Regions from separate parts of the Homo sapiens genome. Here all the other regions are linked to region 1. Evidence: promoter capture Hi-C in 16 types of primary human blood cells and fetal thymus (Javierre and others, 2016). All regions are on one chromosome and are shown on one strand. Each heading gives the region's core, a stretch centred on a gene start or on the middle of the fragment in contact. The rest is flanking DNA. Distances are from core to core; before and after follow the strand shown. Region 1 holds the start of SH2D6 (SH2 domain containing 6). Region 2 overlaps USP39 (ubiquitin specific peptidase 39). Region 3 holds the start of C2orf68 (chromosome 2 open reading frame 68).

The links. The method cuts DNA at HindIII sites, captures the fragments that hold promoters and counts their contacts. A CHiCAGO score of 5 or more calls a contact.
Region 2: a contact is called between a fragment that was not itself captured here and the fragment with the promoter of SH2D6 in region 1, in 1 of 17 cell types (endothelial precursors). The highest score is 5.5, in endothelial precursors.
Region 3: a contact is called between the fragment with the promoter of C2orf68 here and the fragment with the promoter of SH2D6 in region 1, in 8 of 17 cell types (endothelial precursors, erythroblasts, monocytes and 5 more). The highest score is 7.6, in endothelial precursors.

The regions. Positions count from the first base shown.
Region 1 is chr2:85,417,331-85,420,075 of GRCh38, forward strand. It overlaps SH2D6 (SH2 domain containing 6), which reads left to right and starts at 1,384. Exons shown (of 24, transcript NM_001394463.1): 1 at 1,384-1,600; 2 at 1,699-1,914. It also overlaps a transcript of CAPG not described here. RefSeq lists enhancers at 725-834, 831-1,366, 845-1,004. The HindIII fragment of the contact is 6,915 bases long and covers 1-2,745 here.
Region 2 is chr2:85,638,793-85,641,537 of GRCh38, forward strand. USP39 (ubiquitin specific peptidase 39) reads left to right here. Exons shown (of 13, transcript NM_006590.4): 9 at 411-599; 10 at 2,184-2,326. Among named protein-coding and RNA genes, the nearest start is that of USP39, 24 kb to the left of the region's middle. The HindIII fragment of the contact is 4,567 bases long and covers 1-2,745 here.
Region 3 is chr2:85,610,640-85,613,384 of GRCh38, forward strand. It overlaps C2orf68 (chromosome 2 open reading frame 68), which reads right to left and starts at 1,427. Exons shown (of 4, transcript NM_001013649.4): 1 at 1,239-1,427; 2 at 1,029-1,147. The coding sequence starts at 1,345. It also overlaps a transcript of USP39 not described here. RefSeq lists silencers at 1,198-1,579, 1,199-1,268, 1,755-1,927 and an enhancer at 1,539-1,768. The HindIII fragment of the contact is 26,854 bases long and covers 1-2,745 here.

The DNA of each region.
Region 1 (2,745 bases), core at 134-2,633:
AGGTCAAAATCACTTGTTCTAGGTCCCACTTAGTAAGCGGCAGAGGATAGATGGGAGCCATGTAGTGGGAGTCCATGCCCTCCCCACTATCACCGCATGCTAGTGCCAGTTGTGAGTCCTTTCACATGCAAACAGCTATCTCAGCTCTTTTTTTTTTTTTTTTTTTTTTTGAGACAGAGTCTGGCTCTGTTGCCCAGGCTGGAGTGCAGTGGCACCATCTCGGCTCACTGCAAACTCCGCCTCCTGAGTTCAAGCAATTCTCCTGCCTCAGCCTCCCGAGTAGCTGGGATTACAGGCACGTGCCACCACGCCCGGGTAATTTTTTCTATTTTTAGTAGAGATGGGGTTTCGACATGTTGGCCAGGCTGGTCTTGAACCCCTGACCTCAGGTGATCTGCTTGCCTCAGCCTCCCAAAATGCTAGGATTACAGGCGTGAGCCACTGCGCCCGGCCATACCCTCCCTTTTGAGGTGAGGCTCTTGAAGGCCCAGACCTTTCCTCCAGTGCTTTGAGGTCTGATCCTGATGATAATAACACCTCACTCATAACCTGGACTTCACAGTTTACAAAACACCCCTCCTCCTCACCCCCTCCCAAACTCGGTTTATTTTTGTCGTTAAAGCAGAGTTGTAGGCCAGGGTGGACCATAGGTTTTCTTGGTCACGAGAGACTTCCTCCCTCCCTGGGCTCCCCTCTGTAGTGGTGCCAAATAAAAATCTGATCAGTCAAGCCTGTAAGGTAACTAGCGCTAATGTGCAGAGCCAGTCCTGGGCAGGCCTGTTCATTATTTTGCACACTCTTACACCGAAAGGGCCCAGGACCCTCGCCTGACCCAGCCTTGCCTGCCAGGCCTGGGCTGGGTCTCCCAGCCCAAATTCTCACAAGAGGGCCGACTCCGGCCAGAGCGCGCCCCTCTTTGTGCCTCGGTTTGCCCACCTAGAGGTCAGTCCCGCAGGCGTGGCGGGTACATCTCAGGGTCGGCAGAAAGTGCCACCGGGAGCCCAGCCGGAGTTGAGGGCCTCGCGCCGGGCCCACTGTCCAGATCCAGGGCTCACGAGAAAAACGAGGACGCAGGAGAGCCACACGCCAGGACGCGTGTAAGGCCCCAACCCGGCCCCAGCCTGGGCCCTAGACCCCTAAGAACTACAAATCCCAGCAGGCAGTGGGCCGCGGGGCGGGGTCTCGGAAGCTGCGGCCTGTGGTGCCTTTGCTGAGCCCAGGTCCGGAGGGCCCTCGGGGACGGGAGCACCACAACAGACCCCCGGACACACTTACACACACAGTCTCACAAACACACAGTCACACACGCACACACACACACGCGCGCGCGCGCGCCTTTTGGCCCCTCCCCTACAAACTACAAATCCCGGCAGGCAGCGGGCCGTTGGGCGGGGCCTTGGGTGCTGATCCGGACGCAAAGATTGCGCCAGCCAGGGTGGGATCCCGGTAGCTAGGTGGGGGCTACCCTGCTGGGGAAGAGATGGCCTTCTCTCCTCGCAAACCCAGCTCCCCACCCCTGCACGCGCCCCTCTGCCCTGGAGTCGCTGGTCCGAGCCCTCCTTCTCTGCGAACCTGAGCCCCGCCCTGCCCTCCCTACGAGGTTGGGGCCGTGGGAGATGAAGATGGTGGGTGGGGGGTTGGGCCCACAGCCTGCTAAGCAGGCAGAGTGGCCTCCTGAACCCTTCCTCCATCGCCTAGAGCAAACTCCCATTCCTGGAAGGAGGAGCAGCCCAGACCCTGAGACTGGACTAGGTCTGTTAGGGTCCCTGTGTGGCCGGCAGGACTCGTGGTGAAGCCCGGGGAAGGCCTGGGTCCTCCAGGTCAGGGATGTAGGTCCCAGGGTGTGCAGGCCGCGGTATCTGACCATCGTCGGCGCCCTGCGCCCAGGCATCAATTTTACATGGCAGAGTCAAGGTGAGGTTAGGAGGCTGCCAGGAGGTAATAACCAGGGCGCTCGCATTCAGCATCCTCTCTCTCAAAGCACTCTCCTCACACCTCAGGGTCAAATGTCAGAGCTCTTGTCCTAACTTCCCAGGTTGCCCAAGGAGCTTCTGAGGCGCTACAGAAGGGACTTACCCAGACCCTTCAGTGCAAGCCAGGAACTCAGGGTCCGGCCTGCTCGGTAGGATGAGCTGTGCTGAGGCCCTACTTCATCCACCCTTCTGGGCCAGGGCAGCCTCTTTCCAGAGGCCTCTTCTCAGCTGATTTCTGGCTCCCAAGCGGGAGACTCAGGTTACACCTGTATCGGGAGCAGTGACACCACAGTGGCCAGCAACACATTGGACTTTCTGTCTCCAACTCCATTTTCAGCTTTTACACTTCCTGATCTGGGCATATACTGCTACATACTGGATCATCAAGGAAGGAGGAAAATACCTAGTCAATGAAGGTTTAGCCATGACCTTGTAAGTCAGTGAGATTTCATTCTTGTGTGGTTAGTTCGAGGCGAGCTACTTCCTAGAAATATTTCATTTGATCTCTAAACACCTAGAAACAGCTCCAAAAGGGATATTCAAAGTAGATTGCCCAGATTCTCTTGATAGCAGATGTGGGGTTCATATTAACTGGTCGCGTGGTCTCTAAGCATGCCTATTTCTGCCTGGGAAGTTCTCAAAGGTTTGGTTTTCTGAGTGTTTCTGTTAAAACAATCAGCCTTTTGTTGAGTAGCCCTTTTGCCCCTAGAGAGGAGAGATAGGTACCATAGAAACTTGGAGACAGCTATTGACTCAGTCCCTGGACTCTTTA
Region 2 (2,745 bases), core at 246-2,745, 220 kb after region 1:
TCCCAAAGTGCTGGGATTACAGGTGTGAGCCATCATGCCCGGCCAATTTTTTTTTTTTTTTGTAGAGATGGAGTCTCACTGTGTTGCCCAGGCTGGTCTGGAAGTCCTGGACTCAAGCAGTCCTCTCACCTTTGTTCCCAAAGTGTTGAGATTACAGCCGTGAGCCATCACACTTGGCCTCAGGGCTTTTTAGATAGTCTGGTATATAAGCAAAATATCTTTAAAGAAGGAAACCTGTTGGTTCTTAAGTTAATCTAACCAGGTGGTGCATGCCAAACTGCCCAATCTCTCGGGCACTTCTCTTTGTTCTTTCAGATGAAGGAAATGTCGGCGTGGTAAAACATCGGTTCTGTGTTGGTTCCTATACCCGTCACACTCCTTTCCTCTCTTTTCTTCTCATTCATTTCTAGCCAGCAGAAGAAAAAGAGCAGTTGCTCCATAATGACGAGTACCAGGAGACAATGGTGGAGTCCACTTTTATGTACCTGACGCTGGACCTTCCTACTGCCCCCCTCTACAAGGACGAGAAGGAGCAGCTCATCATTCCCCAAGTGCCACTCTTCAACATCCTGGCTAAGTTCAATGGCATCACTGAGAAGGTAGCCCATTAACACACCTGCCCTGCCTATACTTACCCTCGCTCTCTCGACTTTTTCATTTTCTTTTTTTTTTTTTTTTCAAGACAGAGTTTTGCTCTTGTCGCCCAGGCTGGAGTGCAGTGGCGTGATTTCGGCTGACTGCAATCTCTACCTCCCAGTTTCAAGCGATTCTCCTGCCTCAGCCTTCCTAGTAGCTGGGATTACAGACATCCGCCACCATGACTGGCTAATTTTTTATATTTTTAGTAGAGACAGCATGTTGGCCAGGTTGGTCTCGAACTCTTGACCTCAAGTGATCAGCCTGCCTCGCCTCCCAAAGTGCTGGGATTACAGGCGTGGGCCACCACACCTGGCCCATTTTCATTTTATATGTAAGAATCACCACATGTATGTGACGTATTTATTATAAATTATATTGACTTTATTGAGCCTCCCAGACTCGTTGGTATTTCTCACTGGTCACCCCCAACTCTTAACTTATAGTGCCCCTTTTTATTATTTTTTGAGACAGGGTCTAGCTTTATCACCTAGTCTGGGTGATCATGGTGGCGTGATCATGGCTCACTGCAGCCTCAAACTCCTGGGCTCAAGTGATCCTCTCACCTCAGCATCCTAAGTAGCTGGGACTAGACACACTCCACCACATCCAACTAAGTATTTTTGTAGAGAGAGTGCTCACTTTGTTGCCCAGGCCATTCTTTAACTCCTGGCCTCAAGGGATCCTCCCACCTCGACCTCCCAAAGTGTTGGGATTACAGATGTGAACCACTGCCCAACCACAGTGCCCCCTCTTGTACTTCTCATATATCCTGTTTTCAGCTTTCTGCCTGCCTCTGGGGTAGTATAGAGAAAGGAAGGTCATTTAGGAGAGGAGAAACTCCAAAAAGTGGGGAGACATACTTTTTTTTTTTTTTTGAGATGGAGTCTCACTCTGTTGCCTAGGCTGGAGTGCAGTGGTGTGATCTCAGCTCACTGCAACCTCCACCTCCCGGGTTCAAGCGATTCTTCTGCCTCAGCCTCCCGAGTAGCTGGGACTACAGGTACATGCCACCATGCCCAGCTAATGTTTGTATTTTTAGTAGAGATGCGGTTTCACCCTGTTGGCCAGGCTGGTCTCGATCTCCTGGCCTCAAGTGATCTGCCTGCCTCAGCCTCTCAAAGTGTTGGGATTACAGGCATGAGCCACCGTGCCTGGTTAGTTTTCTTTCTTTACATATATATATATATATTTTTTTTTTCTTTTTTTTTCTTTTTCCTTTTTAGTAGAGATGGGGTTTCACCATGTTGTCAAGGCTGGTCTCGAACTCCTGTGCTGAAATGATCCCCCTGCCTCGGCCTCCTACAGTGATAGGATTATAGGTGTGAGCCACCAGGCCCGGCCTTTTTTTTTTTTTTTTTTTTTAAATCAGCCTTAGCCAAACTGCACATCCTAAGCCTCATACATAATTTCTCGGACCAGGAGTCTTGTGAACTTAAGTGTGAGGCAAAATTATATTTTAAAAAATCGAAATGAAAAACTCATGCCCCTGCTCTAATACTACTGAACTTCAGCACTAATTTGAGAATTTTCTTTTCTTTCTCTAGGAATATAAGACTTACAAGGAGAACTTTCTGAAGCGCTTCCAGCTTACCAAGTTGCCTCCATATCTAATCTTTTGTATCAAGAGATTCACTAAGAACAACTTCTTTGTTGAGAAGAATCCAACTATTGTCAATTTCCCTATTACGTAAGTAACATCCTGCCTCACTTCTCTCACGGGGAGTGAACCTGGATTTCTTCTCTTGTATTTTTACCAGTATTAATTTTGGACTGTCTTAGTTGGGGATTACAAGGAACAGAGCCTACCTACAGTAGATAAGAGTTTTTATTGGAAGGATACACTTATTTCAGGGACCACAAAAGATTGATGTTTATTGGGATGCAATCCCTATTTTATCTTCTCTCCTGTTGCTAGCTGGAAATTATAGTCTTCCTGCGTAGAGAAGAAGAAATGATGCAAGTAGGATAAGACAGGTAGGATTCTGCCTGGTTTGGAAGATGTCCTGAGTAGTGAGGGTCTGCCCATCTATTTGCTGGCCATCACACCTTTTTGCACACTAGAGTTGTACTAGATGCTTTTAGTTTGCTTCCTTCCAACTCAGAAAA
Region 3 (2,745 bases), core at 177-2,676, 190 kb after region 1:
CAAAGGTAGTGGCACACACCTATAATCCCAGCACTTTGGGAGGCCGATGCGGGCAGATCACCTGAGCTCAGGAGTTCGAGATCAGCCTGGACAACGTGGAGAAACCCCTTCTCTCTCTCTCTTTTTTTTTTTTTTTTGAGACCGAGTCTTGCTGTGTTGCCCAGGCTGGAGTGCAGTGGCGCGATCTCGGCTCACTGCAAGCTCCGCCTCCCGGGTTCACGCCATTCTCCTGCCTCAGCCTCCCGAGTAGCTGGGACTACAGGCGCCCACCACCACGCCCGGCTAATTTTTTGTATTTTTAGTAGAGACGGGGGTTTCACCATGTTAGCCAGGATGGTCTCGATCTCCTGACCTCGTGATCCGCCCGCCTCGGCCTCCCAAAGTGCTGGGATTACAGGCGAGAGCCACCGCGCCCAGCCGGGGAAACCCCTTCTCTACAAGAAATACCAAAATTAACCGGTGTGGTGGCACACGCCTGTGGTCCCAGGTACTCGGGAGGCTAAGGCTGCAGTAAGCCCAGATCGCACCATTGCACTCCAGCCTGGGCGACAGAGACCTAGTCTCAAAAATAAAATAAAAACATTTTAAAAAAAGTAATAATGCTTAACAAAAATTGACCGTCATATATTAACCAGTGTGATCTCTAGGTAGCAGAGAAGCTGGGGAAAGGCCATTTACTGGGTTCATTCCGCAATTATGTGCTGGTCGCTCATCGCTGTGCCAGACTTTCTCTTTGCTAGGTAGCGGAGCACCTTACTAAAATACAGCACGGTGGGGCAAACCGGCAGATAAACTTCTTGCTGGCTCCCCGATACTCTGACAGCGATGCTTAACTGGGGGCTTATGAGTCGTCCCAGTTCTTGGTGAGAATCATTCAGCGGAGATTTGGGAGCGCTGAGGTGGAGGTTCCGGAAAGAGACGAGATGAGCTGAACCTTAGGAGTAAGAAGTGGTTTTTCCCTATAGAGAAGGGGAGTGCGTTGCAGGAAGAGCGCGCGGGCTGGAGGCAGGCGGGGCGGGCGGCCTCACCTCGGTGTCGCGGCAGGTACACCTGCAGGTCTGGCTTGCGGGGCCGCGTCGGCGCGGGCGTGTGCCGCCTCCTCACCTTCTCCTTGGCCGCCTGCTTCACCTTCTTGTCATAGTCGTCCCTGCGGGGAGCCGAGCGGGAGTCAGGGACTGTCGGGCCGGGCCAGGCCAGGCCAGGAGTGGTGGCGGCGGCGGCGCAGGGCGGGGCGGTACCGAGCGATCTGGTTCCGTCGGATATGGTGCACGAAGCCGTGGTTCATGTCCAGCCGCCCCCCAGGCTTGCAGCAGTGCCCCGGCCGGGGATGCGGCCCCGCCTCCATCAGGAGCCGGGGACGCAGAGTCGCCGCCGCCTCGACGGCCCCAACAACAGCCACCCGCCCACAGAGCTCCGCGCCGCCCCTTGCTCAGCTTCCGGCCCCGCATCCTGACTTCCGGTCTGGGAGGCCCCGGCCTGGCCAAGCGATGCAGCGCACGGAGTTTTCGGGTCTGGTCGGGTCGGGTGGAGTAGGGTATGCTTGACTTCCACCCCCCGGACGGAGGGCTTTTGTTTTTGTTTTTTTTTGTTTGTTTTTTCGTAACATATCAATAGGAAACAAGGACTTCGGCTTACAGCTGATACCAGAACCTTCAGAAAAATGCAAATCATCTATAACACAACTCGATGCTTACGGCGGTGCCTTCCCATCTTTTTTCTGGTAATAGGATGCTGTGCAATCCATCGCCATCTGCGTGACTTTGGCTGACTGTGTAACGCTGCCACTTCTCAGTTTCCTCATTAGTAAATGGGAACACCTAGAGCACCTACCTCAAATGGATTGTGAGGCCTTGAAGTGCTCAGGCAGGGCAACAGCGGCGCCCAGGCCGCAGGCGCCGCGAAGGCTCTCCTGGCCCGGCTTGCCTCCTGCTCACGGCGCCGATGGCTTAACTGTCCCCGCGGGAGGACCCAGGGTTTTTGAGGGACCTACGGGTGTATTATTTTCTTTTTTATTTATTTTTCCTTTTTTTTTTCTTTTTGAGAAGGAGTCTCACTCTGTCGCTCAGGCTGGAGTGCATTGGCGTGATTTCGGCTCACTGCAACCTCCGCCTCCCGGGTTCAAGCGATTCTCCTGCCTCAGCCTCCCGAGTAGCTGGGACTACATGCGCGTGCCACCACGCCCGGCTAAGTTTTGTATTTTTGGTAGAGATAAGGTTTCACCACGTTGGCCAGGCTGGTCTCGAACTCCTGACCTCAGGTGATCCGCCTGCCTCGGCCTCCCAAAGTGTTGGGATTGCAGGCATGAGCCACCGTGCCCGGCCCCTTTTTTTTTTTTTTCTATTTTTTCTGACCACTGGGTTCACGTCACAGCGTGTAAAATTCTCAAGTCCTTTTACAAAAGTCAAAATCAGGAATTCATGATTAGGACAGGGACAAACGGCTGGATGCAGTGGCTCATGTCTGTAATTCCAAAACTTTGGGATGCCGAAGTGGGAGTATCGCTGGAGGGAGGAATTTGAGACCAGCCTGGGCAACACAGCGAGACATCGTCTCTACAAGAAAAAAATACATTAAAAAAGAAAGAAAGAGCCGGGCGTGGTGGCTCACGCCTGTAATCCCAGCACTTTGGGAGGCCCAGGCGGGCAGATCAAGAGGTCAGGAGTTCGAGACTAGCCTGGCCAAAATGGTGAAACCCCGTCTCTACTAAAAAAAAATACAAAAAATTAGCTGGGCTTGATGGCCGGT